7 separate regions of the Homo sapiens genome follow, and regions 2, 3, 4, 5, 6 and 7 are each linked to region 1. The links are contacts of gene promoters, found by promoter capture Hi-C in blood cells and fetal thymus (Javierre and others, 2016). All regions are on one chromosome and are shown on one strand. Each heading gives the region's core, a stretch centred on a gene start or on the middle of the fragment in contact. The rest is flanking DNA. Distances are from core to core; before and after follow the strand shown. Region 1 holds the start of NRP2 (neuropilin 2). Region 2 has its middle 250 kb from the start of PARD3B. Region 3 has its middle 190 kb from the start of PARD3B. Region 4 has its middle 250 kb from the start of ICOS. Region 5 has its middle 280 kb from the start of ICOS. Region 6 has its middle 170 kb from the start of PARD3B. Region 7 has its middle 260 kb from the start of PARD3B.

Evidence for each region. Contacts are between HindIII fragments. The CHiCAGO score rates a contact against its expected background, and 5 or more counts as called.
Region 2: a contact is called between a fragment that was not itself captured here and the fragment with the promoter of NRP2 in region 1, in 6 of 17 cell types (M2 macrophages, M1 macrophages, non-activated CD4 T cells and 3 more). The highest score is 9.6, in M2 macrophages.
Region 3: a contact is called between a fragment that was not itself captured here and the fragment with the promoter of NRP2 in region 1, in 4 of 17 cell types (total CD4 T cells, total CD8 T cells, neutrophils and 1 more). The highest score is 10.1, in total CD4 T cells.
Region 4: a contact is called between a fragment that was not itself captured here and the fragment with the promoter of NRP2 in region 1, in 2 of 17 cell types (M2 macrophages and M0 macrophages). The highest score is 5.7, in M2 macrophages.
Region 5: a contact is called between a fragment that was not itself captured here and the fragment with the promoter of NRP2 in region 1, in 1 of 17 cell types (M2 macrophages). The highest score is 5.6, in M2 macrophages.
Region 6: a contact is called between a fragment that was not itself captured here and the fragment with the promoter of NRP2 in region 1, in 1 of 17 cell types (non-activated CD4 T cells). The highest score is 7.6, in non-activated CD4 T cells.
Region 7: a contact is called between a fragment that was not itself captured here and the fragment with the promoter of NRP2 in region 1, in 5 of 17 cell types (M0 macrophages, M2 macrophages, M1 macrophages and 2 more). The highest score is 11.4, in M0 macrophages.

What each region holds. Positions count from the first base shown.
Region 1 is chr2:205,680,937-205,685,190 of GRCh38, forward strand. It overlaps NRP2 (neuropilin 2), which reads left to right and starts at 1,565. Exons shown (of 17, transcript NM_003872.3): 1 at 1,565-2,427. The coding sequence starts at 2,355. RefSeq lists a silencer at 966-1,085 and an enhancer at 3,560-4,190. The HindIII fragment of the contact is 6,030 bases long and covers 1-3,653 here.
Region 2 is chr2:204,297,713-204,301,477 of GRCh38, forward strand. No RefSeq gene overlaps it. Among named protein-coding and RNA genes, the nearest start is that of PARD3B, 250 kb to the right of the region's middle. The HindIII fragment of the contact is 2,869 bases long and covers 563-3,431 here.
Region 3 is chr2:204,356,671-204,360,908 of GRCh38, forward strand. No RefSeq gene overlaps it. Among named protein-coding and RNA genes, the nearest start is that of PARD3B, 190 kb to the right of the region's middle. The HindIII fragment of the contact is 6,416 bases long and covers 1-4,238 here.
Region 4 is chr2:204,182,422-204,186,474 of GRCh38, forward strand. No RefSeq gene overlaps it. Among named protein-coding and RNA genes, the nearest start is that of ICOS, 250 kb to the left of the region's middle. The HindIII fragment of the contact is 7,295 bases long and covers 1-4,053 here.
Region 5 is chr2:204,213,145-204,217,442 of GRCh38, forward strand. No RefSeq gene overlaps it. Among named protein-coding and RNA genes, the nearest start is that of ICOS, 280 kb to the left of the region's middle. The HindIII fragment of the contact is 9,112 bases long and covers 1-4,298 here.
Region 6 is chr2:204,374,826-204,378,589 of GRCh38, forward strand. No RefSeq gene overlaps it. Among named protein-coding and RNA genes, the nearest start is that of PARD3B, 170 kb to the right of the region's middle. The HindIII fragment of the contact is 3,971 bases long and covers 443-3,764 here.
Region 7 is chr2:204,280,841-204,284,610 of GRCh38, forward strand. No RefSeq gene overlaps it. Among named protein-coding and RNA genes, the nearest start is that of PARD3B, 260 kb to the right of the region's middle. RefSeq lists an enhancer at 1,479-2,256. The HindIII fragment of the contact is 2,912 bases long and covers 90-3,001 here.

The DNA.
Region 1 (4,254 bases), core at 315-2,814:
GCCAAGAGACATGCTCCCTGGAAGAACTCAGAGGCCTCTGTGCTGTGCCTTTCCCAACCAGGCATCTGAGATTAACAGTGTGATACTCAGCCTGTGGATTTCCACTCTAAAATCCCGCGCCACCCCCCAACACAGCTTGGCTCAACTATTTGCAAATCACTTCTGATTCAATTTTGTTTTGGTTATCTCAGTGTAAATAACAGTTAAGTGGGAGTTACAGATTTTTCAAACACTAAAAGTGATAAAGCTAATGGGCAAGTCCAGATAAGGAGGGAAACCACCCAGAAGAATCCACAAGTACAAGCCAAGAAGAAAATGGGTAGTCAGGTGTGTGTTTCTCGTCACCGAAACTGTATTTTTCTTAATCTACAGAAAATTTTACTTTCTTAATTTAAAAAAAATCTTAATCTGTAAATATTTTTCTGAATTTTCTTATTTTTCATATACCTCTTTTGTGGCAGAAAAGGTGTACATGTGCAGGGTGTAATTTAGGCTGTTTCTGTTGCAGTCTTTATGATAATGTAGTAATAGGTGTCTGGTGAAGCAAGACAGTTTGGAATCCACAAAGCCATCCTCAGAAACAAAGATACAAGTGTTTCCCCAACTGTTAGCTTGCAGTTCCCTCTAAACAGTTTTCACGCCTCCATTTAAAAATAGTTGGCATAATGATGTTTTCTTTCTCTAGGCTTTGTGACCACGTTTCCATGGGGGAAAATGTGAATAGACGTAGTTACAGTAGCATTTGGATGAGACGCCTTCAAGCACCTATACTTTTTCGGGGGAACTTGATGGAATCCAATTTAATTACCTGAAGAAATTATTTGCTGAAGAAAGTCTTTCCTCTTTTTAGGGTAGTTACAGTTAAAGGCGCAGGGGTAACGAAATCCTAACCCAGAGAGGAGCAGAGCATGTTTGGGACATAACAAAGGATCTGAGTAGTAAACGCAGCGAGTGTTTGGGGTTTTATTCAGACCGGGCTGACGGTGTGTGTCGCCGCCACGCACCGCTGCCTGTTCGAACGCATGGCTGAGCTGCCGACCGGCTCGCTACCCCAAACACCGTACGCCACCCAACTCCTCTTGTAACGCCATCGCGCGTGGCATTGTGTTGGGTTCTGCGTGTGTGGCATCGGAGTCGTGGAATTTAGGGGGAACAAGGCTTTTCCCCCCGTCCCCCCGGGGTCTCCCTTGGGTGGGGGCGACACGGCCAAGGCGGCGCGCCCTGGGGGTGCCCGGGGGCGCTTCTTCCCCAGGGCGTTACGCACCGGCGGCCCGGCGCGGAGGTGCGCGGGGGCGATCGGGAGATGCGGGGCGGGCGAGGGGTGGTGGGATGGGCGCCGCCTTAACTTCGATCCTGCGGCGGCCCGAGAGAAGCCGTCGCCGCCCCGCCCGAGCTGGGTGCCGCGGCACTCTGCTCTGCGCCGCGCGTCTCCGCGGCTGCCTCTTTAATCAGGAACACAGAAGGGGCGGGCCCTGAGCCGGCGCGTAATCGGATAGCTCTGCCGCGGCTCTGACATCCACATGCTGCTCGGCCTGAAAAGGCAGTGGGGAGCCGGAGGGGAGGCAGAGATCGCGAGCGAGGCACCAGCCTGCAGCCGGCCCCCAGCACATCCTCAGCCGCACAGACACTCGGCGAGGTGGAGGTGAGGGCGGGCGCCAGCGAACTCGGAGAGGGGCTCGCTCACTCCCAGGCGATCCCAGCCGCCACCGCCGCCGCACCAGCAGCAGCAACAGCAGCAGCAGCTTCCTTCCTCAGACTCCCCTCGAGAGGCTGGCCAAGCGGGTGTAGCCGTTGGGGGAGGCTCCCGCCGGGGGAACCCGGCGAGGACAAGAGCAGGGCGGCCGCCTTCCACTCGGGCTGTCCGGCGGCGGCTGCCTCCGCCCGTGTGTCCGTCAAGGGTGCCGCGGGATGTGTGTCAGTTTACGCCTCTGAGATCACACAGCTGCCTGGGGGCCGTGTGATGCCCAAGGCAAGTCTTGGTTTTAATTATTATTATTATCATTATTGTTACGCTTGGCTTTCGGGAAATACTCGTGATATTTGTAGGATAAAGGAAATGACACTTTGAGGAACTGGAGAGAACATATATGCGTTTTGTTTTTAAGAGGAAAACCGTGTTCTCTTCCCGGCTTGTTCCCTCTTTGCTGATTTCAGGAGCTACTCTCCTCCTGGTGAGGTGGAAATTCCAGCAAGAATAGAGGTGAAGACAAGCCACCAGGACTCAGGAGGGAAACGCTGACCATTAGAAACCTCTGCATAAGACGTTGTAAGGAGGAAAATAAAAGAGAGAAAAACACAAAGATTTAAACAAGAAACCTACGAACCCAGCTCTGGAAAGAGCCACCTTCTCCAAAATGGATATGTTTCCTCTCACCTGGGTTTTCTTAGCCCTCTACTTTTCAAGACACCAAGTGAGAGGCCAACCAGGTAAGCCACTGAAAGTTTTTCTATTTATTGCAACATGGTTTCCCCTTTAAAAGTGACCGCTAAAGCAGGAAGGCCACGCAGAACGGCACAGAAGAAGGCTCCCTCAGTACTCAATAATTTAAAGAGAGATCCCAGCCGGCCCTTCCTACACCACCACGGCTGCTAAAACCCAACTTTCCTCTCCTGCTAGGAGTGTGTGTGTGTGTGTGTGTGTGTGTGTGTGAGTGTGTTTTGAAACAGAATTTGGCGGTGTTCATATGTCACATATGGACTGAATCAAAGGTTTAAAAATACTACAAAGCCTTTGCATTACAGTTTTTGGGAATTTTTTTTCCCTGTCTTGAAGCAGAACACATCTCCCTTGAGTTTCTCCAACTAGCCAGTGAAATATAAATCATTTGCATTCCCTCCACTTAGCTACATTGAGCAATGTTAACTGAAGGGCTTGGGAAAGACAAGAGTTTAGTTTTGGTTTTCAGATGCTGTAGATTCTTTGGAGAATGACTGGTTATGCTTCAGAATCATAAGGCTCAGGCTGGTGGAGCAAGTTGGCTTGTGGCTGAGATAGGGGCTTGGGGTTGGGTGCTGCTGGCAACCAAGACGGTTGGTCTCTTCTCTCTTCATCCATGTGTTGTCTGGGAAAGTAAATCGTACGTTCTTTTAGAAATTATTATTAGCTAAAACAAATTGCAGGCCCTCGAAGGTCTCTCACTCTTGTGAAGTGGTTAGAAACTTTTGAGTGGAATTTGTTCTCAACCACTGCCAAAAAGGGTGTGTGGACAGGCTGCTGTGGAGATAAGCATTTCGAGGCCCAGAACAGTCTGGGGACCGCATTTGTGGGGAGCGGCAAGGGGTATGCTCTGGAAAGGGGAATCCATGGGGAATGCAGTGGGGTTTGTGCTTCCTTCTCGGACCACTCTCTAGAGTGAGCCTCCCTACCCCTCTGAGAACAGTGTCTGGAATCTAACAACAAAACTCTTAGCAGCTGCTACAGGTGATTGGAGATGGAGAAACCATCTATGGAGGAAATGGGTGAAAGAAAGGCGAAAAAGCCTTCCTGAAGTGCCCTCACCCAAGGCACTTGCAAGGCGATGGCGGCAGTGGTAGAGCTAACTCTGCAGCCTCCTTGGCATCCCCAGAACATCAGCTAGTGGATCCTAGCCTTGCATCTGGTACTGTCACCCTTCCTTCTCCTCACGCCCCCCACCAGCACACACACCACTTTAAGCTTGGGCATTTATTTGAGGGGGGAAGAAAATTCAGGAATGCCTTTGCCACCCAGATCCGCACGTTTGCAGCTCTTTCTTTGCCATAAGTGGTCTTCAGGGCAGCTGCAAATCCTGCCAAAGGGATGGGTGGGGGTCCCACTTGGGGAGATTTTCTGGGCCTCCGCCGTTCCCCCTTGCCTTATTTCTAAATTCCCAGCTTGAAGCGGAATTAAATTACCACTCACAGACCTGGATGCTGCGTAAATTATGTATGTTTGTGTGATTCGCTGTGTGTGTGTGCACACGCGCGCGCGCCGTGAGGATGCCCACAGTATATTATGTATTCAGACACGGACTCCAGTAGGCCCCAGCGCGCGAGCGCGCACACACTGGCACTCACACTGGCGCGCACACACATGCAACTTCAGGTTCCGTGTGCTGTGCGGAGCGGGAGGGGTCGTGAAGACTCAGGGGCCATCTCCTACCCCAGATGTTCGCACATCTGTCCCCGAGCGCTGCTTGGAGTGTGTGTACGTGTGTGCGCGACACCCGCTTGGACCCACTCCCGCTCTGCCACCTGCCTGCCGCGCTCTCTGCAGAACCCCCTCCCATCCCAATC
Region 2 (3,765 bases), core at 747-3,246, 1.4 Mb before region 1:
ATACTTCTGTGTTTTATTTCTCAAGGAAATAGATTTGAAGAAAGCATAGTTTTACACCATTAACAGCTGATACGGATAAGATAGAGTTGCTTGATAGCAAAGAACAGATAGGAAAAGAATCCATCTGTCTAGAAAGATCTTCATGGAAATGGATAAGTAGTGCCTATTCGGGAAAAAATTACTACACATATAATATATTTCTGGAAGGTTTATGTGAAAAACATATTTCCTGTCAGTTTCTTGTTTTCTTTTTAAAAAAGAAGCTTCTTTTGGGCCGGGCACGGTGGCTTACGCCTGTAATCCCAGCACTTTGGGAGACCTAGGCAGGTGGATCACCTGAGGTTAGGAGTTCGAGACCGAGCTGACCAACATGGAGAAACACCGTCTCTACTAAAAATACAAAATTAGCCGGGCGTGGTGGAGCATGCCTGTAATCCCAGCTACTTGGGAGGCTGAGGCAGGAGAATCACTTGAACCTGGGAGGCAGAGGTTGCGGTGAGCCAAGTTTGTGCCATTGCACTCCAGCCTGGGCAACGAGAGTGAAACTCTGTCTCAAAAAAAAAGCTTCTTTCTTCAGTTTTTTTTTCTTCCATGACTGCATTTAGAAAACAGTGACAGGGTAAGTGCATTTGGGCTCTTTAGATAGAATCAATTCTGGATTTCTTTTATTACTTTGTCACAGTGCTTCAATGATGGTTCTAGATTAGATAAATTGATCACATTTGAGGAGGGTTTCCTGCAATTCACATATGAACACACACGCACACATATGCTCACACATACACATACTCACACATACATGCTCTCACACACTCCAAACATTCTAACCCAAAGCTGTCTTTGCTCTTTGCTTTCAGCATGGCTTCCATCCAGAGCCAATTACAGAAAACAACAGCTCCTCAGCACTATTGCCAACAGTAATCTCAGGGAAAGAATTGCACCTACTCAAGCCTGAGAACATATTCAAGAAGTTAATTATTTTCCTAGTGTAGTCCTTGGAGTAGCCTTTTTTTTTTTTTTTTAACTTTTTCCCTATAAAGTGCCATGGGGTATTATTCCTGTGGAACATATGGGGTACTATATAAAACCAAGTTGTTGCTGATTTTACTTGAAATCAGTTTTTATTTCCTGTTTTATGTCTACTTGTTTACAGCACCTTGAAACATCTTCTGTGTGTTTGCCCGGTGCTGAGGGCTTCGCAGTCAGAGCTGAGTCTCCCTGGTTCCTGGTTAGCTCACTTTGGAGGGCTGCGTGTCCCTGCGTGTCGAGGGAAGGAAAGAGGTAATGCCAGAAACTAATTTTCAAATAAAATGGCAACATGATTGAAACGTATTCCTCTAAATTCAGTATCAATTAAGTTTAATGGTCACAAGTCTTTCATCGATTTATAGAGCTGTGTATATCATGATTTTTAGAGAGAACATTACTCCCTCGACAGCTTTCTAATTGAGAAAAGGATTCTATAGCACAGAGACCTTCGATTAATGTTCTATAGAGATAATTTGTAGCTTTTTGTTCTGCTGGTCACTGCGCCAGTCATACACCGACTTCACTTAGCAGGTTTGGGAAATTTAGTTGCAGCCACAGCAAACAAAGCCCAATAACTGTGTTCTCCATGACAGCAGAAATCTAAAGAAATAGTTAGTAACTGATGGGGCTTTTGTTCTTGTCTCATTTCCCATTATGGCAGATCCTCAAGGTAGTATGGAAATAGCAAATTTCTAGTTGCTATTTACACAGATAACTGCCCCCAAAAGACCAAGTAGAAAAAGTAGCCAATGGATTGTGCCATTGGTTTTATTCAGGAGCATGTTTCTAGAAATGAACAGGTTTAGGACTTACATAGGCCTGGGTTCCATTGCTGGCTCAGTGATACACTCGATGTGGACAACGTGACATAATATTGATTATTCATTATTGGCTTTGGAAGTCATGGTGAGTAACTTACATACAGTTGCACAAATCAGTGTCCTTACGTGGTAAGCACTTATCAAAGGAGACTTCCCGCTCTACTTCCTAACATCTGAGGGTCAACGTTTACTACACTTATGGGATGCAGTGACTTCCATGTGAAGGGTAACCAGTTAGAAATCTCAAGAAATGGGTGAGAGTGGCATGGGAGTGTCCCTACACCACCCGCAGATGATTACATTCTAGTTGCCTTCTGGCTTTTCTGTTTTTTATTGATTGTTGGCAGCATACCATTGCTGGACTTAGTGATTGCTTACAAACTCAGCTTCTCCTAAGAACTAACAAGCAAATTTGAGCTTCCCAAGAATGCAGGGTGGTGACTAAAATGCCAAAGGCATGAACCAGTTAAGCTCTAAAGAAGTCCAAAGACAGAAAGCAAAAAAAAAAAAAATAAATAAATAAATAAATAAAATAAAACTGAGAAAGATGGAAAATCTAGTGACACCTCAGGACTTCACATACTTCCTTGGGCAAGGCAGTGTCCCAAAATTCATGCTGGCTCTGATGGAGGGAGGGGAGAGCTGGGACAGCAGCCACCACATGGCACTCTTGGAGTTCCATGCCTTGGTGCATCACACAGAACTGGATTTGGACCTCATCTCTGCCACTGGCAAGCTGTGTGAGCTTGAGGAAGTTATTTAACCTCTCTGGGACTTGGTTTCTATCTCTAAAAGGAGTACTTTCTTCATAGAATTGCTTTGGGGATTAGGTAAGAAAATGCATTGAAAACAAAAGGCCTAATGATGTGAAAAGTATTACAATTAAGACTACTGGCTTAGAGAGCTTCAGAAAATCTCTCCAAGGTTCTATCTCCTCTCTAAAATGATTATGATAATGGTTCCCACCTTTTCAGGCTGTTGGAAGGATTATGAGCTAGCTCATGACTAGCATTTACAAATATTCCCTGGCATATATTAGGTTCTGCATAAATATTAGAAATTTATGTCCCCCCTATTTTCCCATTCCCTGGACCATTTGCTTTTTTCTCTACATACCCACCCCCTAGCACCATGCTTGAACTCCTGTATATGTCTCTCCTCTTATGTCCAGCTAGTCTTCTACAAAGAGCCTTAGAAACCAGACTTCAAATGGACACCATGGCTTCCTAGTGGGGTAATTCTCCTATCTCTGCCCCGATAGTCATGATCAGCCATTTTTAGGCTAATTTCAGCTTTTCCTAGGAGCAATAGCCATTAGCCAAGTAAATGTGACATCTCACTCTCTTTTATAAAAGTGAGAAGAGTGCTAAAAATATTGCTGGTTATTTCACAGTTAATCGGCTTCCCTTGAAGAGGTGGTATGCCTCTGTCCTTGTGGGGAGTCTCATGTTCACTTCTGGTCACCTTGTTTCAAGAGAAGTGGGAGTGAGATTGAAAAGTGCTGGAGAAGGGTATGAGCTTGCTTAGAGGTGGAGGACGATTTACGTACTATGATAGGCAACAAAGAAGAGGATTAGCAGAAGCTTAGGATGAATTTGATAGCAGGGCTTAATATTACAAGGGTTTAATAAAAACTTATCAGTCCCCCTTTGTCAACATAACAGCAAAATATGAGTGCAAGTCAATGCTCAACAATATCAAAAGGCGGCAAATGAGAATCCACACTGGAAAATAGTTATTCACACAAAATGTTTACTTGTGCAAATCTCCGATGTCAAAGACATTTCTATAACCAGGATTCTGTCCCTACACTTTAAAAGACTGAACAATTTTGTGCAATAAAAATATGTGATTATGCAAGTATGTCCAATATGGGTAATTAAATTTCATGCTTCAGGAGACAAATTAGTTGTTG
Region 3 (4,238 bases), core at 823-3,322, 1.3 Mb before region 1:
TTATATAATAGAAAACAGCTCTGCCTTTCTGTGTTCATTACCTCCCCCATGCCTCGCCCTGTAAAGGAGAATTTTTAAAGGAGTCTCTTCCTATCTTAAGAAACTGGTTTCCTAATATCAATGAGGGGAGCCACCACTCCTATACTTATAGGCTCTGCAGTTATTGAAATAGAGATTGGGAGCAAGATGACCACAGGGGAGGTCCAAAGAGGAAAAAAAATGAAAGCAAGAGAGTTCAGAAATAGGAGAATGGCAGACCAAGAAGATGAAGGAAAGAACACAGGCAAGGGGTAAAGTCCAGGATGAGGCAGCCCAAGTAAGGAAGGCAGAACAGAACAAGGGGCAAAGCAGAAACCAGCCTCACCTGCAGCCACGTGTCCCTAGAAAGAAACAAGGAGGCAGAATCAGTTAAACGTGCTGACGGCTATCTACCTTCAATCATGTGAAAATACTTCCGACATATTGGGCCCAAATGCATGGCAAACGAACATCAGTAAAATTCCCTTGCTCTCCGAATCAAAGGCCTCACCTGTTTGAGGTAAATTGGCCCTTCCGGGCAGATGTCTTGCTTTATTTGATGGGCAGCCATCCACGTGGAAGTGGGTTAAGGACAAAAGATGCATCTGGTTGCCCTGAAGGAAGGGCCAGGTTGCCCATTAAGTGACAAATAAAGATGGCCTCTCCCTGTTATCACCCCCTGCCCATGAAACGAGGAGAGAGCCGCTTGTCTTGCCCACAGCCTGTGCAGAAGCAACAGACGGATGGTGAGAGTGTCAACCGTGGATTCCGGGCTTAATTGTAGTCCTTTTGCTTAATGAGGTTTCGTGAGGAGGAGGAGGTGGGGGATTGGTGTGTGCTCCTGTGGCTGAGGGTTATTTAATTAAAAAACAATAAAGCTGCCAGCTGCCGCTGGTTAACAATCTGGAACCCTCCCTTTCTTCCTCCCAGACGTGAACACAACACAGAGAGATAAAGCCTCTCTAACCGGCTTGTGAGCTGAGGCCCTGTTAGCACCCCCAGATCAAACCACCCCATTTTCTTCCTAAGCTCTCTTTGGTTGCCAAAAACATTGCTAGCTGATCTATGGAGAGTTAAAGACCCCCCTCATAGCTAAATTACAAAAAAGAAAACAAACAAAACTCCTATTCACCCCTTCTCCTTGGTGCTTGTTTTGAGACCAAAAAAATGTACCCTGGAGGCTGGGCGCGGTGACTCACGCCTGTAATCCCAGCACTTTGGGAGGCTGAGGCGGGTGGATCACGAGGTCAGGAGATTGAGACTATCCTGGCTAACACGGTGAAACCCTGTCTACTAAAAATACAAAAAAAATTCGCCGGATGTGGTGGCAGGCGCCTGTAGTCCCAGCTACTTGGGAGGCTGAGGCAGGAGAATGGTGTGAACCCGGGAGGTGGAGCTTGCAGTGAGCTGCGATCTTGCAGTGAACCAAGATCGCACCACTGCACTCCAGCCTGGGCGACAGAGCGAGGCTCTGTCTCGAAAAAAAAAAAAAATATATATATATCTATATAATATATATATATATAATATAAATATATATAAATATATAATATATAATATACATTATCTATAATATAAAAATATATAATATAATATACATTGTCTATAATATAAAATATACATAATATATAATATACATTATCTATAATATAAAATATATATAATATATAATATACATTTTATATATATATACACTCACACACACCCTGGAAATGGACACAGGGGAGGTGATGCAGAAAGGGGGTATCTTCCAGCTCCTGTCTCCTGTGTGTATCCTGATATGAACACATGGACGTGGAGGCTTTCCCAGGAAGGATGCATAGTCTCCTACCAACAGGGTTTCTGTCCTCTGTGTCCAGGGCTTCACCACTTCCAACAGTCACCTGGGGAATTTGCTTTAAAAAAATACCACTTCTCCCAGCACTTTGGGAGGCCGAGGCGGGTGGATCACAAGATCAGGAGTTCAAGACCAGCCTGGCCAAGATGGTGAAACCCTGTCTCTACTAAAAATACAAAAATTAGCTAGGCATGGTGGCAGGCACCTATAATCCCAGCTACTCGGGAGGCTGAGGCAGAGGATTGCTTGAACCCTGGAGGCAGAAGTTGCAGTGAGCTGAGATTGTGCCATTGCACTTCAACAAGAGCGGGACTCCATCTCCAAAAAAAAAAAAAAAAAAAAAAAAAAAACACTTCTGAGGCTCTTCCCTGGAGATTCTGAATAAATTAGTGTCTGAACCTGTATTTTTACCAAGGGCCTTCATTGATGTTTCTGATCAGAAATGTCTGAAAAATTATCTTCTCATTACCTGTTTACCCGAGGGACCTGAGTGGAGACTAGAGAGAAGGGAGTGAAATGGAAAGTTCCTTCAATGCAGAGTGTTTAGCCTTGCGTATATTTCTCAGTTACCAACAAAGGCCCAAAGCCTGTCTGTGATTTTTCTGTTTAAAGAGCTCCCCCATCTCCTAACACCTCCAGCTCAGCTAGGGAAAAGCAATGTAACAAAACTGCAGGGTCTGTTTCTAGGGGGTAAAAACTAGCTACTGATTAGCTGTGGTATCTTAACAGCATTCTTGTTTGAAGCATCCCTGTGGCAAATTATTAACACACTAGAGTGAGGCTTAAACCAGGAGACCCCCATCTCCTTACTAATTAATCAAACTTCAAAAGTTCACTCACTAGTAGGTGACAACCATGTCTTTTTGCCTGAGGCTGTGTCAGTTTTAGCACTGAAAATCCCTTTCTGGGAAACCTCTCAGTCCCAGGCAGACCAGGGCATGGATCACCTCTAGTAACCAGCTCACACTATTGGTGCCTCTCTTGGGATTATTCAGCTTTTCTTTCCCCCTATCCTAGATGCATCATGAATTTCACAGGGGAATTGTGAATCTGGGGATACTCAGGCCTCACGCATGCATTCTCTGCATCTCACTTAGCACCTTCCTCAATTTTCTCTTCTTCAGCACCTATCAATTGGCTAAAGAGCCAGCTTATTCTCTTCCAATTGGCTATAGACCCCACTTATTCTCTTCCCAGCTTCCAATTATCTTTTCCCCTGCCTAGTAAAAAAAGCCCTATATTCTCCAAATCGAGTTCTCTGATGACTTTTGATGTCCTTTTAAGTCCACCAAATAGGCTGGCCTAGGATTAAATAATCTTTGGAATCGCATTTTATTTGCATTTCAAATGTACAATTTGCATGGCATTTGCTTATGCCTCAGTCAGATTGGTTCAGATCTCATCCATATTTATTTAGGGGGAGGGGAAGTATAAGAGCAAAATATTGTGGACTCCTGGTCAGAAAAGCTGACTCCAGATCCTGGCCTTGACATTTATTTGATCAGCAACCTTAGATCAATCAGTTTTGCTTTATGAAAAATTGAGATGGTTGAATTATTTTCCTTCCTAAAAATTATATGCTGAAGTCCTAACCCCCAGGACCTCAGATTGTGATCTTATTTGGAAATAAGGTCATTGTAGATACAATTACTTAAGTCAGGATGAAGTCATACTCATCTAACTCACACTCTTCATTTTGGAGTAGGGTAGGTCCCTAACCCAAACTGACTGGTGTCCTTATAGAAAGCGAAATTTGAAGACAGACACGCATGCAGGGAGAACGCCATGTGAAGTGTGGGGTTACACTGCCACAGGTCAAGCAACTCTCAGAAGGCAGGACCAGAAGGTAGGAGGAGAGAAATCTGGAAGGAACAGACCTTTTCCTTGCACCTGCAGAGGGAGCACGACATGCCAATGCCTTGATCTTGGACCTGTACACCTTGGAGTCTCCAGACTGTGAGGTTTCTGTTTAGAAATAAATTTCTGTTGTTTAAGCTACTCAGTTTTTGGTACTTTTAAATGGTAGCCCTACTAAACTAATGTAAATGGTAACACCTACTTCATAGGATTTTTCTGAGAATTAAATATATAAGAATATTTATGTGAAAGTACTTGGTACATAGGAGTCATTAATGAATAGAAGAAAAAAATAATAGAGAGAGACAGCAGTGAGTTACCAGAAAATGACACCCTTGGAGTTACAGTATCAAAGTTCAAACTCCCTTTCCTTCTCTGTTATACCTTATATGGCAACTGCAAACCACTTCAACCTTTCATCTCTTTGATCCTCATTTCCTCATCTGTAAAATGGATATAATAGTACAAACTTCCTAGGGAAGTTGGGATGATTAAGTAAGAGAACAAGTGAAACTACATCAACCAG
Region 4 (4,053 bases), core at 1,531-4,030, 1.5 Mb before region 1:
TCGATCCAGCAACCGCACTAGTAGGTATCCAACCAAAGGAAAATAAGTCATTATATGAAAAGACACATGCACATCCATGTTTATAGCAGCACAATTCACAATTACAAAGATATGGAATCAACCTAAGTGCCCATCAACCAATGAGTAGATAAAGAAAATGTGGTATATATACACCATGGAATACTACTCAGCCATAAAAAGGAATGAAATAATGTCTTCTGCAGCAATTTGGATGGAGCTGGAGGCCATTATTCTAAGTGAAGTAACTCAGGAATGGAAAACCAAATATTGTATGTTTTCACTTATAAGTGGGAGCTAAGCTATGAGGATGCAAAGGCATAAGAATGATATAATGGAGTTTGGGGACTCAGTAGAAAAGGTTGGGAGGGGGATGAGGGATAAAAGACTACATATTGGGTACAGTGTATACCGCTGGGGTGACAGGTGCACCAAAATCTCAGAAATCACCAGGAAATAACTTATCCATGTAACCAAAATTACTTGTACTTCAAAAACTACTAAAAGAAAAATTTAAAAAATTAAACAAAACCCAAATAAGGTCGCATTCTGAGGCTCCAGGTAGACACAACTTGGGGGACTTGATTCAACCCATTACATGTAGTTCTAATTTTGTTTTATTAAAAATATGTATTTGTAAATAAATATATACATCTACATAAAAGAGAATTTATCATAGTTGTATTAGACTTTGGAGACAGACACATAGGCTTTTGATCCTCATTCACCTGTGACTGACAATGTGACAAGGTAGCTGCCACCCTCTCCTAACGCTATCTCTTGGAGGGCTTAACTCGTGGAGTCTCAGATTTCTTATGGGGGTTAATTCTTATGAATACTTTAGGTGGGTGACTATACCTCACAGGGTCATCGTAGTGGTTTTCAGATAACATACATAACTTACTTAGCATAGGACCTGACTTGCTAAATGTTCTCTCTAAATAGTAGCTATGATAAATTTGTATAAGAGTTCTGGAAGGATAAACCCCAAAATATTAACAGTAGTGATTTATTATGGAGGTTAATTATTATAAACATTTTTACTTTCTCTTTAATTTATTTGTATATTTTATTAAAATTTTAACCACACATATATTACTTTTTAAAATCAAGTAAAACAATAAAGCCATTTCTTTTGGGTGAAAGAACAAGAAGACTTATTACATTCTGCATCCCCTTGATCCTTGTGTGTACATATGAATAACTCAGGCGTTGTAGATTAAATTAACCATGCAGCTAATTTAAAAAAAAAAATTCTCCTCTTTTAGCCTTGGAAGCTCCATCCGCTCTCTCTCTCCATAGTTTTTCATGTGCAAAATTTGTGTTGGCTTCAGTGTGATTTTTTAGTGCCAAAACCATGATATGCTGACAAACAGGAATAACAGCATTTCTTAAATGTCCACAGTGCAAAGGGGAGAGGCATGGCGTGTTTCAAAAGATGGGTTCCTACTGTGGGAAGATGTGCTTTTTCTGAGGGGAACAGGGTAAACGCAATGATGAGGGAGTTCTGTCAGCAGTAGGATTGGGGCAGGGAGGAAGACAGCAAAGTTGAAACCAAGAGGTGAAATTGTCTAGTGGATTTGTGTCATATTTTAACACATATTTTTAGGATTAGTTGCCTTTTGAGAAAGGAAACACCTTACCTGAAAACATCTATTTAATTTTTTTCATATAAAAGTAGTATATGGTAAATGAAAATGAAGAAAATATGAGTAAGCAAAATTTTTGAAGTCAGAATCCCACCATTCAGTGGTAATGACATATTATATACACACACAGTTGCACATGTGTATACCCACACATACATCTAGGCGTGTCCCTGCCAGAACATACAGCACCTGTGTGCAAAATAGAAAAAGGCGACTCCCTTTGGGGATCAGATCAGCAAAAGATGACCACTCTGGGCAGATTTGGCAAGTAGAGAGTACTTTTTATGCAAATTAGAGAAAGAACTCCCTTTCCTCTGACCTGAAATATTCTCTTGCCAAGGCATCCATCTGGATGCCTCCGTCAGGGGATAACTGGGACAACTGCATGCAATGGCCCTGAAATGAGGATATACTCCCCCTGCATTTTTAGCATTTTATAATGTAGTATCTGATACATATAAAACAATGCATGTAGTTTAAATGCAAGTTATACGGCAAAATTTTTAAAAATTGACCTATCAACCAATTTCAGAACAGAAGCATTACCAAGATCATTGCACTTGCCTCTGTCCCCTCTACTATCCTAGACTTTCTCCCAAAGGAGAGAACTGCTATTTTATGTATGGGAACTTCATGTTTATTATTCCTTTTGAGATAATAAAGAAAGATATATATATGTATATCTCATATATATATATGTTTATCTCAAAAGAAAAAAGATATATATCTCAAAAGAAATAAAAGATATATATCTAAAAGCAATAATAAAATAAATATCAAAATAAATATCAAGAATATTTTGATATACATTTTTTTCTTTTTTGAGACGGAGTCTCACTCTGTAGCCCATGCTGGTGTGCAGTGGTGCGATCTCGGCTCACTGCAACCTCTGTCTCCCGGGTTCAAGCGATTCTCCTGCCTCAGCCTCTCAAATAACTGGGACTACAGGCACGTGCCACCACACCTGGCTAACATTTTGTGTTTTTAGTAGAAATGGGGTTTCACTGTGTTAGCCAGGATGGTCTCCATCTCTTGACTTCATGATCTGTCTGCCTCAGCCTCCCAAAGTGCTGGGATTACAGACATGAGCCACTGTGCCTGGCCAATATATATATTTTTTGATATATTTATATCAAAATATATACAGTCTTCTGTGACTTGCTTTTTAAGCTCATACTATTTTATAGCCTTGTTTTAGACTTAACAAACATCTTTCATGCCATAAAATTTTATCCTACAATATTGAAAAACTTGAAAGTGATCCATTAATTTGTTTGGACTGTAATTTAATTCCGTTATGTTAAATTTATTAAATATTAATTATGTTAAATGAACATACTTTAATTAAAAAGGCAGACTTTTATTTCCAATGTTGTTACAAAACTCTTCATGATTGTCTTTAACTTCCATCTAAATGAAATCTTGGACAACATTCTCGACTATTTTCTTAGAATGTAACTGAGCCCAGGTTCAGCTGCTCACCACTTGAAAGCCAAACACAAGACATGAGAATTGGCGGGAGGAAAAGGAGGTTTTGTTCAGAAAACCAGCAAAACTGAGACGATGGTGAACTAGTCTTCTGAAGCACCATGTTAAGTTTTGCAGGCTGACTGGAGGGTTTTTATGCTAGGGGGGATATAGGGAAGAGGAGGGGTTTGGTATCAAGAGGTGACCGCTGACCACAGACATATCTGGGTGTCAGCGAAGGTCCAAGGAGGTTGGGAACTTCTTTGCCCTTGGTCAGGTCATAGTGCTCCTGTAAATCTTTAACAAAACGTAGTTATTTACATACATCCTCTTTAATCTCAGTTAGTTTCAAAAATTACATGATTGCCATTTTTGCATTTTATTTCAGTACTCTCAAATTCTCCTAGCCTATGTGCAGGAATGGGTAAAGGCCCTTTAAACAAAATGGAGTTACTTATGTTAGTTTTTTGCTGTTTTGCTGTTACAAAAATAAATCCCTAGACATAGAATTGGTGGGTCAATGGTACATTGATTATAGGCTTTTGATGTGTATTAATACTGGTGATAATGTTAAGGTAATGAAGAAGCTGCCTAGTGGACAAGTGATAACTTATCCGAGGAATTCCATTCAGGGTTAATAGTCAAGTAAATACTTTTCAGATCTACTGACTTAAGAGAACTCCACTGTGCAGCAAACCTCACAGAGTTGTTCGCTCTGTTCTGACTCCAGAGGCTCAAGATTTACCATAATGTTATGAATAGTGGTAGTGGGTGTGGAGGTGGTCGTTTGGGGGAGAGTTCTCAAGCAAGACTTGAGCATGAAGAATCACAAAACCAGCCCATAGAAACTTCATACCTAGACCCATATGAGCCACAGAAGAGGGCAAAGGCGTCTCTCTGTACCATAGTCAAAAGGAAG
Region 5 (4,298 bases), core at 407-2,906, 1.5 Mb before region 1:
AAGAAGGCTGTGAGAAAATAGTGAGATAGATAAATTTCTTTCAAGCAGGAGTTATACTGCTGTTGGCCATGAGTTCAATATTAATGAATCAACAATATATATGAAATAACTTGTCTTCAAACAGAAACACACAAGATCAAGTATTGATCAGTTGATGAAAATGTTATGACCAGAAGATTTCAGGAGCCTAATCCTGTATTTCCCCTAGGAGCAATAATTCAGTGTTCACTAATTTCATGTTCACAGCTACTTTATAGAACATAATTACTGTAAATAACAAGAATTGACTATATTACATATGTGTGTGTATGTATGTATGCACAGAAGTCTTTAAGATGTATCCACATATTTTCTATTTCTAGAAATCCTTATTTTTTCATGTAGACTCAAGCATACCATTTTCTTTAGCCAAAAGAACTCTTTTCAGCATATTTTGTAGTGCAAGCCTGCTGGCAACAAATGCACTGAGTTTTTGTTCATGTTAAAATGTTTTATTTTAGCTTTCAATTTTGGCAGGTATTTTCACTGGGTGAAAACTTCTGGGTTAACAGTTTTTCCCTTTCAGCACTTTAAAGATACTGTACCATTGTCTTCTACCCCCCACTGTTTCTCTAGACAAGTCAGAAGTTATTCTTATCATTGTTCTCCTGTATGGAGTATCTCATTTTTCATTGCCTGCTTTCAAGATTGTCTCTTTATCTTTGTTTGTTTGTTTTTTCAGCAGTTTGACTATGATGTATCCTTGTTTATTTATTTATTTTTAATTTATCCTGTAAAGCTGTGGCTTTCTGTCACTTGAGCCTCTTGTGGAATAGGCAATACTTTCAGACTAAATACCATAAACTTGCAAATTTTATCTTTCATCGTTCCTCTTTCCTCTTTCTCTTTCTTTCTTTCTTTTTCTTTCTTTCTCTTTCTTTCCTTCTTTCTTCCTTTCTTTTCTTTCTTTTTCTTCTTTCTTTTTCTTTCTTTCTTCCTTTCTCTCTCTCTTTCCCCCCTCCCTCCCTCCCTCCCTCCCTTCCTTCCTTCCTTCCTTCCTTCCTTCCTTCCTTCCTTCCTTCCTTCCTTCCTATCTTCCTTCCTTCCTTCCTCTCTTTCTCTCTTCCTTTCTTTTTGATAGAGTTTCGCTCTTTTCACCCAGGCTGGACTGCAATGGCACGATCTCGGCTCACTGCAACCTCTGCCTCCCAGGTTCAAGTGATTCTCCTGCCTCAGCCTCCTGAGTAGCTAGGATTACAGGCACCCACCACCACGACCAGCTAATTTTTGTATATTTAGTAGAGATGGGGTTTCACCAGTTGGCCAGGCTGGTCTTGAACTCCTGACCTCAGGTGATCCCCGCCTCGGCCTCCCAAAGTGCTGGGATTACAGGTATGAGCCACCACACCCAGTCCATGGTTTCCCTTTCAAAGTAAACCCTCCCTGCAGTTTCTGCTTACTTTTAATCACTCTTCTGAGCCCTTAAATAATTGTGTGTTTGCATGTGTCTATGTGTGTGTAATAATAGTTTTCCAGATCTTACAGCTTTTTTTTTGTAAGAGAGTTAGTTTGATTGAGCTACTCTGTTATTACTCAATTCATTTGTTTATAATTGGAAACTAAGGCATGTTCTTGAAAGTAAAGAAACAGTACCATAAATACCTTATGAATGTTTACAGTGCATCCCATAGTTTTCATTTTATATCTGAGATTGACTAGCTTGAATTCTGACAGTTTGACCAATCTAAACTTAACAACAATGAAAAGAAACTTGCGGCTTATAGTAGGGTTGCTTTCAGACTCAAATAGAAATGGGACACAAAAATCTGTTAAGATTAATAGAGAAGATTAATCTCAATCTTCTTAAGAAACTTTTATATTTGTGATTTTAAAACAACTTTTCTATACATCATCACACTCTAATCAGAAAAGTAAGTAACTTGATGTTTTAGTCCTTTCATGCTGTCATAGTAAGGTGGCATAGGCAGCTTATAAAAAACAAACACTTATTTCTTAGAGTTCTGGAGACTGTGGAGTCCAAGATCAATGTGTTAGCGGATTTAGCATCCCATGAGGGTCCTCTTCCTGTTTCATAGACAGCACCTTCTCTCTGTGTCCTCACACAGTGGAAGTGAGGGATCCCTCTCAGGACTCTTTTATAAGGGCACTAATGCCTTTTATGAGGACTCTGCCCTCATGACCTAATTACCTCCCAGTGGCACCACTTCCTAATACCATCAACTTGGAGGCTAGAATGTGAATGTATGCATTTTGAGGGACACAAACATTCAGACCATAGCACTTGATTTGAATCAGAGTATTAGCGTGTGACATTGCCCATAGCTTTACTTGGAAATCACTATAGTTCTTCACGTTTCGAATACTCAAAACCCTTCTGAGGCTTCTCAGTTCTAATAATGACCTACGCCACCATGCATGATTTGGACCTTGTTTTCTGTCTAAATTATATTCTGTAATTCTCTCCTTTGGCCACTCCACTCCAGCCATACTGATCTCCTGATTTTTCTTTAAAAATACCAGGTGACCAGGCAGGCTCATACCTCAGACCTTTTTTCCTTACTGTTCCCTCTGCCTAGAATTCTCTTCCCCTAGATAGTTTCATAGCTAGTCTTCCTTTTTCAGGTGTTTGTTCAAAAGTTAGATTCATAAAGCAGACTTTCATTTCCACCATATGTAAAATTACAACTCCACCCCCGACAACAGAAAACTTTCTGTTTTAATTCCCTTATTATGTCTCTCTCTCTAATATAGTATATGCAGTTGGCCCTTGAACAACACAAATTTGTACTGCATGGTCCATTTACACACATATTTTTTTCAATAAATCTTTCTTGCCTCACCTTCTACCTCCTCCATCTTCTTTGCCTCTGTCATCCTGAGACAGCAAGACCAGTCCTTCCTCTTCCTTCTCCTCCAACTCAGCCTATTTAACATAACGAGGACAATGATGCCCAAGACCTCTATGATTATCCACTTCCACTTAATGAACAGTAAATATATTTTCTCTTCCTTATGATTTTCTTGATAACATTTTCTTTTCTTTAGCTTATTTTAAGAATACAGTATATAATACATATAACCCACAAAAGACGTGTTAATCAACTGTTTATGTTATCTGTAAGGCTTCTGGTCAACCATAGGCTATTAGTAGTTAGGTTTTTAGGGAGTAAAAAGTTATATATGGATTTTTGACTGCACAGGGGGTCAGCACCACTACCACTCACATTGTTCAAGGGTCAACCGTAGTTTCTTTCTTTCTTTTTTTATTTTTGGGGCAGGGTTCTGCTCTGTCGCCCTGGTTGGAGTTCAGTGGTGCAATCATGGTTCACTGCAGAGTCTACCTCCCAGGCCCAGGTGACTCCTCCACCTTAGCCTCCTGCGTAGCTGGGGCTATAGGGGCGTGCCACCATGCCTGGCTAATGAAAAAATTTTTTTTTGTAGACTTGAGGTCTCCCTATGTTGCCCAGGCTGGTCTCAAACTCCTGAGCTCAAGTGATCCTCCTGCCTCGGCCTCCCAAAGTGCTAGGATTACAGATGTGAACAACCACGCCAAGCACGCCCAGCCTAGTTTCTTACTTATCTTATTTTCTAGATTTGTTTGCCAGTGTTTTACTAGAACATACCTCCACAAAGTTAGCATTGTTTATGTGTGTTAATCATGGTATCCCCATACCCTTTAATGTTACCACGCACACATTAGTGCTAAATAATTTGTTGAATGAATAAATAAATGAAACTCCCTTGAAAGTTTCTGGAATACTGTTAAGCAATTACCATCTAGAACTTTCTCAGTTGACTTACATGAACACAAGCAGCTTTTGCTATTACAGAAGTATGAGATTAGTATTTTCAATTCACAGTTGTATTTTCAATTCACTTTCTACATCGGGAAATGTTGCTTTTTATTTCACCATAGGGGATTTCTACATTGTTATTACAAGACAAATATTATTATTATGAATATCACTGAAACCCAAAATTTAGTCTAATAAAAACATATTTATGCTTTGACCAATGGTCCATGGTAATAGTACCTTGTTGGTCTTGTTATAGCAAAATTTCCTCATATATATTACGTGTATGCAAGACACACACACACACACACACACACACACACAATCTCAGTACAATCAATGTTCCATTACTGGTCCTAGTGGCTTGTTATAATGAAAACATCTAACACCTGACTGTGTAACATAATGCAAACTGGAAGAGAAATATAATACAGTGGCTCTAGCTAGTGTAGTACAAATAAAGAGTAAAATATAATTGTCCTTAAAAAATTACAAGAAATTGTA
Region 6 (3,764 bases), core at 1,178-3,677, 1.3 Mb before region 1:
AGTGGTATTATCAGGTCATAATCTATCTCCAACCCAGATCCCTTTCTTGAAGATACTGCACTGGCACTGGTGCTTTGGTGTGAATTTGAAAAATCTTTCAGGGGCCGGGCACAGTGGCTTACGCCTGTAATCCCAGCACTTTGGGAGGCTGAGGTGGGTGGATCACGAGGTCAGGAGATCAAGACCATCCTGGCTAACACGGTGAAACCCCGTCTCTACTAAAAATACAAAAAATTAGCCCGGCGTGGTGGCGGGCGCCTGTAGTCCCAGCTACTTGGGAGGCTGAGGCAGGAGAATGGCATGAACCTGGGAGGCGGAGCTTGCAGTGAGGCGAGATTGTGCCACTGCACTCCAGCCTGGGCAACAGAACGAAACTCCATCTCAAAAAAAAAAAAAAAATCTTTCAGTTACTCTGTCCGAGTAAATGAACACTCAGCCCCTAAGCTTCAGTCTTTCTCTCTCAAGGGTAAAGAGTTCAGTAATGTTACTTCTCTACACAAGCAATGTCTGGTTTCTTCTTAGCTGTTCTTACCCAAAACCATGTTAACGTTGGAGCAGTGGGAGTCCCGCAGAGCAATATATTTATAAAAGAGCTCTCTTCTCTCAAAATATCTTCTGCCTTTGTATCAAAGGAGTGGCATAGATATTCTTGGCTTTTGGAGCACACATACTCACAAAGAGTGTCTTTGAGGCTGAATGCATCCCCTTCACTGAAATTCTCTTTCTTCTATAATTGTTCCCTACCTCACTTTTAAATCTTACTTTGGCTTTGGAGCAATGGTTTAAAAGTGGTGGCAACTGTTCAATGAAATGTTGCCATATGACTTTTCCAATTAAGAGTTTTGTGGCAACTACAGATGCATTAAATCAGGAAATGGAATAATGGAAAACCTGAGCTAAAAAGATTATATGAAAGATAATCTAATATAAAACTTTTATTTTACAATCGACTTAACTTAGTCCTTAAGAAACTGGGGACCCTGCCTAAAATTACAAATGAAACCAGTGGCAGAACAAAGAGAAGAATTTTAGTGAGCTATACTCCAGGCCAGGTGTTTTTTTCTATATAATATGTATAGTAAAGGCAGGTAAGACCCGATAGGACATGGCATGACAGCCAATGAGGCTAAGGTCAAGTTTTTCTGATATTTTAGACTGGAGAGACCTGAAGGCAAAAGTTGACAGGGTTGTAGAGCGGTGAAGTGAAAGGTCTTTGAATTTCTGTTTGAATTCCCCATTCAAGATTAGTTATGTGACCTTGAGAACAATGGACTTTTCCAATCCTCAGTGTTCTTATCTGTTAAAGGAGCATAATAAGGGTGCCTATGTCATACAGTTATGAAAACTAAATAGTAATGCATACAAGCAAATAGCACAATGTCTGCACATAGCAAGTACTCAAGATAGTAGAGACCTATCTTAACACATTTAACCTGGGCTAATTCAGCCTGACATACATCCTCAACAGAACAAGAAAAAAGAGAAATAAATATCCATTTATTTGTGTGTGTGACTTGGAGTAAGCATGAGAAGGGATCTATGAGTTTGTGGGTCCCTCAGTCAGTGTCAGCCTCTGCGTGCCTCTCATACCATGAGCATCTCTATGCCCCCTAGAAGGTCTTTATAAAGTATATGTTTGTTATACATCAAGTCCTTTAAATGGAAGCCAGAGACTTCATCTGGTGCACACATGAAGAAACACCAATCTGCTTTAATATAGGAAGAACAACTAAAGTTAGGCTTATGCGGAATTGCGGTTTGTTTGGTCTCCAGCATGACTCTCTAAGATATCAAGGAGAAAAACTAATAAAATGTCATTTTTGCCTTAGGCTTTGACTTAATATCTGAATTCCTTCATAAGATACATTGGCACTTTAAATGCCATCATTGTCAACATCATCATCATCATCCCCATCAAACATCATCTCTACTAATAGTCTGTCAAAACTTTCTATTGTCACTTGGAAAACCCCTCTTTTGGCATTGTGCTCAGATTTCCCCTTAAAAGATTACACTTAAAGCATCAACCTTTTTCACACATTGTATAATCAGAAGCATTTTGAGAACATCTTGGGAAGAGATGCAGCAGATCTTCCAGGCCATCTCAGCACATATTTAGTGACCAATTCCAGGGCCCTTTGCCCCTCTTTCAGGGTCAGGACTAGGGGAGGCCAGTGAGGCACTTGCCTCAGGCACAAAATTTAAGGCAGCACAAAGAACTCAGTAGTCACATAAATGGTATCTTAACACAATATTTTGAAAAATAAAAATTATGCAAAAAATACATGGTGAATAAAATATCAAAATGTTAAAGACAAGACCAATGCTACTGCCTTTTTCTCTCGTATCTGACCCCAAATGGCTTGACCCAGCATTGACTTTGTGTTCCTGGGTCCTGAGCACTCCTCTGAGTATATCCCTATAATGTTTCAACCCTTCAGAGACCCCAATGTGATTGCAGAATCACAAGATCAGCTCAAGTTAGTTATGGATTTCACAAAGTGTATTCTATAAGTCAGGCACTATTCTAAGTGCTAGAGATAGCATAGTGAATAACTAGACAAAAACCCCATCTCCATGGGACTTGCATCTAAGTGGGAGGAGGACATAGAAAATAAATAAATAAATAAATAAATGAAATACACAGTAATTCAGATACATTAGACAAAGGTGATATGGAATTCTATGGGTGGAGCTAGGAACTGAAATTTTAAATAGGGTGCTCAGAGAAGGCCTCACTGAGAAAGTGACATTGAGCAAAAACCTAAAAGAGTGAGGAAGCAAGTGTTGGGTTATCCAGAGGGAAATTACCCCATGCAGAGGGACCAGCAAGGGCAAAGGGCCCGATGTTGGGTGATATGGTTTGGCTGTGTCCCCACCCAAATCTTACCTTGAATTGTAGCTCTCATAATCCCCATGTGTCATGGGAGGGACCCAGTGGGAGGAAACAGAATCATGGGAGTGGGTTTTTCCTGTGCTGTTCTTGTGATAGTAAGTCTCATGAGATCTGATGGTTTTATAAAGGGCAGTTCCCCTGCACATGCTGTCTTGCCTGCCACCATGTAAGACATGCCTTTGCTCCTCCTTTGCCTTCTGCCATGATTGTGAGGCCTCCCCGGCCATGTGGAACTGTGAGTCCATTAAACCTCTTTTTCTTTATACATTACCCAGTCTCAGGTATGTCTTTAGTATGAGAATAGACTAATACAAAGGGGTTTCCAGGATGGGGCCATGAAAAACAGCAGCTTCACTGTCAGAAAGGAGGGCTTTATGTAGGTGGGAGGTAAAATTCCATGCCTGTGAGAAATTGGCAATAATGAAGTAGATTTCTGGAAGAAGGAGCAGCCATATGGAGGTGATAATACTGGCAGGAAAGTGGGAAGGAATACAAAACAACGCTGAGTCTGGGGAAAACAGGAACCTCTTCTCACTTTTTATGCTCTTTCTCATTGCTATAGTTTGGATATTTGTTCCCTGAAACCTCATGTTGAAGTTTGATCCCGAATGTTGGAGGTGGTGCCCCATGGAAGGTGTTTGGGTCATGGAGGTGAATCCCTCAGAAATAGATTATACCCTCCCTGGGTAGTGAGTAGTTCCCGAAAGAGCTTGTTGTTAAAAAGAGCCCACCCCCATACCCCCAACCCGCGGCTCTTGCTCTCCCTTGCATCCACTCTCACCATTTGATCTCTGCACACACAGGCTCCCCTTCATCTTCTGCCATGAGTCTATGGTCGTCACCAAATGCAGATGCTCAATATTTTTGA
Region 7 (3,770 bases), core at 296-2,795, 1.4 Mb before region 1:
ATGTGCTTTGGGCTCTTGGAAAGGTTGGCATGACATAAATGAAGGTGTTTCAGTTTCTCTTACCCCAATTAAGAGACCCCTGGAGACAAAGCTTCTTTCACAAAGTCAGACACAACCTGTAGTCAACTGAGAGAAATTCCAGCCTTCTCAGATGTTGGGAGGGTGGAAATGATCATCAAGATTCAGTATTTAGGATATCACTTTTGGCAAACAAATCCCCACTCCTGGCCAAGGAAATGGTTGAAGACAGGAGGGTTTAGGGCTCTATGGTAGGTTTTGATCGCTTGGATGGTGACAGAAACATGCTGAGACTGACTGTGGCAATTGCAGATCTCATTAACTGGTTATGCTACTATGATGATATTATTACTGCCGTGTCCACCTACCAGAGCTACCTTCTCTTCAGACAAAGAATCCTCTACCACAGCCAGCTGTGGCTTTGGCCCTAACCTCAGCAGGGAACCCAAGTGACTGTTCGTCACCTTCTGCTTGGCTAGAGGCAGATCTAGCAGCAAACGATGCCTATGTCTTAGCCTCCATGTCCAAACACTGGGATGTCGGTGCAAAGGTAATCGTGGGGAAAACAAGACCATTACTGAGAAGAAAGAGCAAGAGTTAGCATCTGCCCCAGTCCTGGGAAGCATTGGCCAGCTTCTCCAGAACTTACCCTCTCATGGTAAGTTCACTGCACCTCCATGTCCTGAGACCTTCTACATGGCTGGCTTCATCATCTCATTTCATCTGTTACCTCTGCAGATTTCTGGAAATAAAGTCCAAAGTAACAGTCTATCCTTTCTGGACTGACTTTCAATCCCTTTTGTTCCTGTTGGGGAAAATGGCATGCATTGGCATTTCGGTTAGTAAATAGCCTTACCGTTGATGCCCATGCATTCCTGGAGGGGAATGAGGAAAAAGAGGCCAGGTGGAAGGGAACAAATGGTGGATTGTGATTCCAAGACACTGTGTCCCAACTTTATCTCAGAATGGTCCACCAAGATACCATGTTTAGACCAACTATAAAGCAAGTGAAGACACCTGTCATTTTATTATTTCATTTAATTGCTCCTGGTTCATTTCTATGCTGCCTTACTTTCACCGCAGGCTTCCCTCATGATTTACCTTTGGCCCTTTGGCTGCAGTTGCCAGAACCTGGAGAGAGTAGCTTTAGAGAGAAGGCTGTCCACCAGGAGCCAGGCCTTCAATCTAGGAATACAGCGTCTCCAAACTGTGGCTCTGGATCGGCAGGATGAACTCTTATTCTGGAATTTATTTCCAGAAATCTGGAGAGGTAAAGGGTGAAAAGAGATGATAATGATGAAACTGGTCATGACATAGAGAATAAATAACAATTCTCCATCTCTTCTTACTCTCTCATCTCCTGACAGTGACCTCCACTGGCCAAACCCAACCCAACACCCAGCGGGAAAGGGAGCCCACTATCCAGACTCACCCTCATGGGGCCTAGAGCAGGTGGGGAAATAGGTCTAGGTGCAGACGGAGAATATCAGAAGAGTCTCCACTCTGTTGACTGTTTTGTTAGTTTGTTTGATTTTTGGATCTGCTCAGAGATCCAAAGGGTTACGTTGAAAGTAAACACAACCCAGGACAGGAGGACAATTTTTACTCCTCCAAATAAGTGTATAGGTTTAGCATACGCTCCATCAAAAGCCCCCCAGAACTGAGTCAGGGAGAGAGAGGTGCACTCTATAAACTTAGCCTTTGGTCTTCAGAAGTATTTCATTCTAACACAAGTTTGCCTACAAAGCTGCTTTTACATTTTAAAAAGTCCCCAGTGTATGGCCACTAGCTCCAGATGTGTTAATAGCGCCAAAGCAGCTCACAACAGGCTCCTTGAGTTACTGAATAACAGAACTCAACAGGCAGCTAAGCCTTCCGACCACACACTTTCACCTTTACATGCTCTGAGTCAGCTTTCAATAGGCATTAAATTCTCCCTTTGTTTTCATTCCTTGCTGCCGTAGCTCTAGCAGGGACCTGTGAATAGCCGGGCTATGCTAAGTACCCTTAAATATAGGTCTTTGAGAAATCTCTGTGTATATGTGAGTTCCATACATAAGTAATGTCCAAGGAGGAGGTCAAAACACTGAAATATTGAAATAAAAATCAGGAGGCTTTAGTCCTACTCCTGGTCTATAAATCTTTTTTTTTTTATACTTTAAGTTTTAGGGTACATGTGTGCAACGTGCAGTTTAGTTACATATGTATACGTGTGCCATGTTGGTGTGCTACACCCATTAACTCGTCATTTAACATTAGGTATACCTCCTAATGCTATCCCTCCCCCCTCCCCCACCCGACAACAGGCCACGGTGTGTGACGTTCCCCTTCCTGTGTCCATGTGTTTTCATTGTTCAATTCCCACCTATGAGTGAGAACATGGTCTATAATTCTTGACTAGCCCTGCAGGGTAACCTTGGACAGACATCTTTACCTTCCTAAGACTCATGTTCTGCTGCTCTAAAATAGAAAACAGAGTCCTGTTATCACAGAAGAGATGTGGGCTGGAAGAGACCCACCTCCTTAACCTGGGCTTTGCTGAAAGCCAGCAGTCCTTTGAGGCTGAGGAAAGGTGAGTTTTATTGTACTGTTTGCTCCCAGGCAGCTGCTTCCAGAGGATTCATGGGTTTACAATTTAAGAGACAACCAAGCATGAGGATAGAACTTCCATTAAATGGCGCCCATGTTTCTGGTACCACGACAAGCCATTAAACCATACTCTCTGGCTAGGTTTATTAATGTCCACATCTAAAATTTTGTACATTGCTCCATATCCTACTGCAGTTTAGAGTCATCTCCTGAGTATTTCACGGTGAGTTATTTACTTAGTGTGACAGGAAAGGGATTAAAAATGCTCCATGTTACAAAAATCATATCCTCGTCTTCTGCATGTCCACACGACACACGAGAAGGAGGAAGAGTGTGAGCTCCAGGACAGTATCCAAAAACAAGTTAAATTGAACTCTCCTTAGCTCTTCTTCAAAGCTTCAGGCTGCTGAAACCCATTTTCTATCCTTCTCAATATTTGTCCTGCTGATGCGTTAATAGAAGCTTGTTTTTCACAATATGTTCACACCACCAAAAGCATTCAGGGAATTCCTAGATCACCTTAAATTTTTCCTAATTCAACATCTTCTGGAAGGAAAACACGAAAGCACCCAGATGCCTTTGCTTTAGAACAATTCCTGTGACTTATTTCGCATTGATAGTTTTTGTTTTAACTGGAATTAAGGATTCTAAGGGCAGATCTGAGAAGCTACTTCACTAACAGTGAAAGGAAAGAGAATGAGGAAAGTTGATTTATCCATGCTGAATGAATACCGACTTACCTGCCCCAAACAGAGAAACAACTAACTAAACAGCTATTCAGTAAGCCTGCTACAACTACCCCAGACCCACCCCAGGCAAACAGGGACTTCAGAACACTTATCTCCCGAAGGAAGCTCTTGCAATTCAGATCACAGGCTTTATTTTTTAATTCACCCATGTTTGCTTCAAAAGAGCTCCTCTGCTGACTATGGAAGAACAAAACGAAAAAGCCAAAGAGAGAAACACTTAAGGATTTGAGGTTGGGGAAATGTTAGAAGGTGAGAAGTCGGGCAGTAAAAGGAAAAGAAATATCCACTCACTAAATCTAGGACAGCCTTGTACAGAAATCTGCCCCAAATTCATGTTTCTCCACCTCAGGAACAAGAGGAGCTCCCTTGTTTGTAGTTAGAATTTTAAGGACTAGTGTCTTTGAGCCAGGTAAA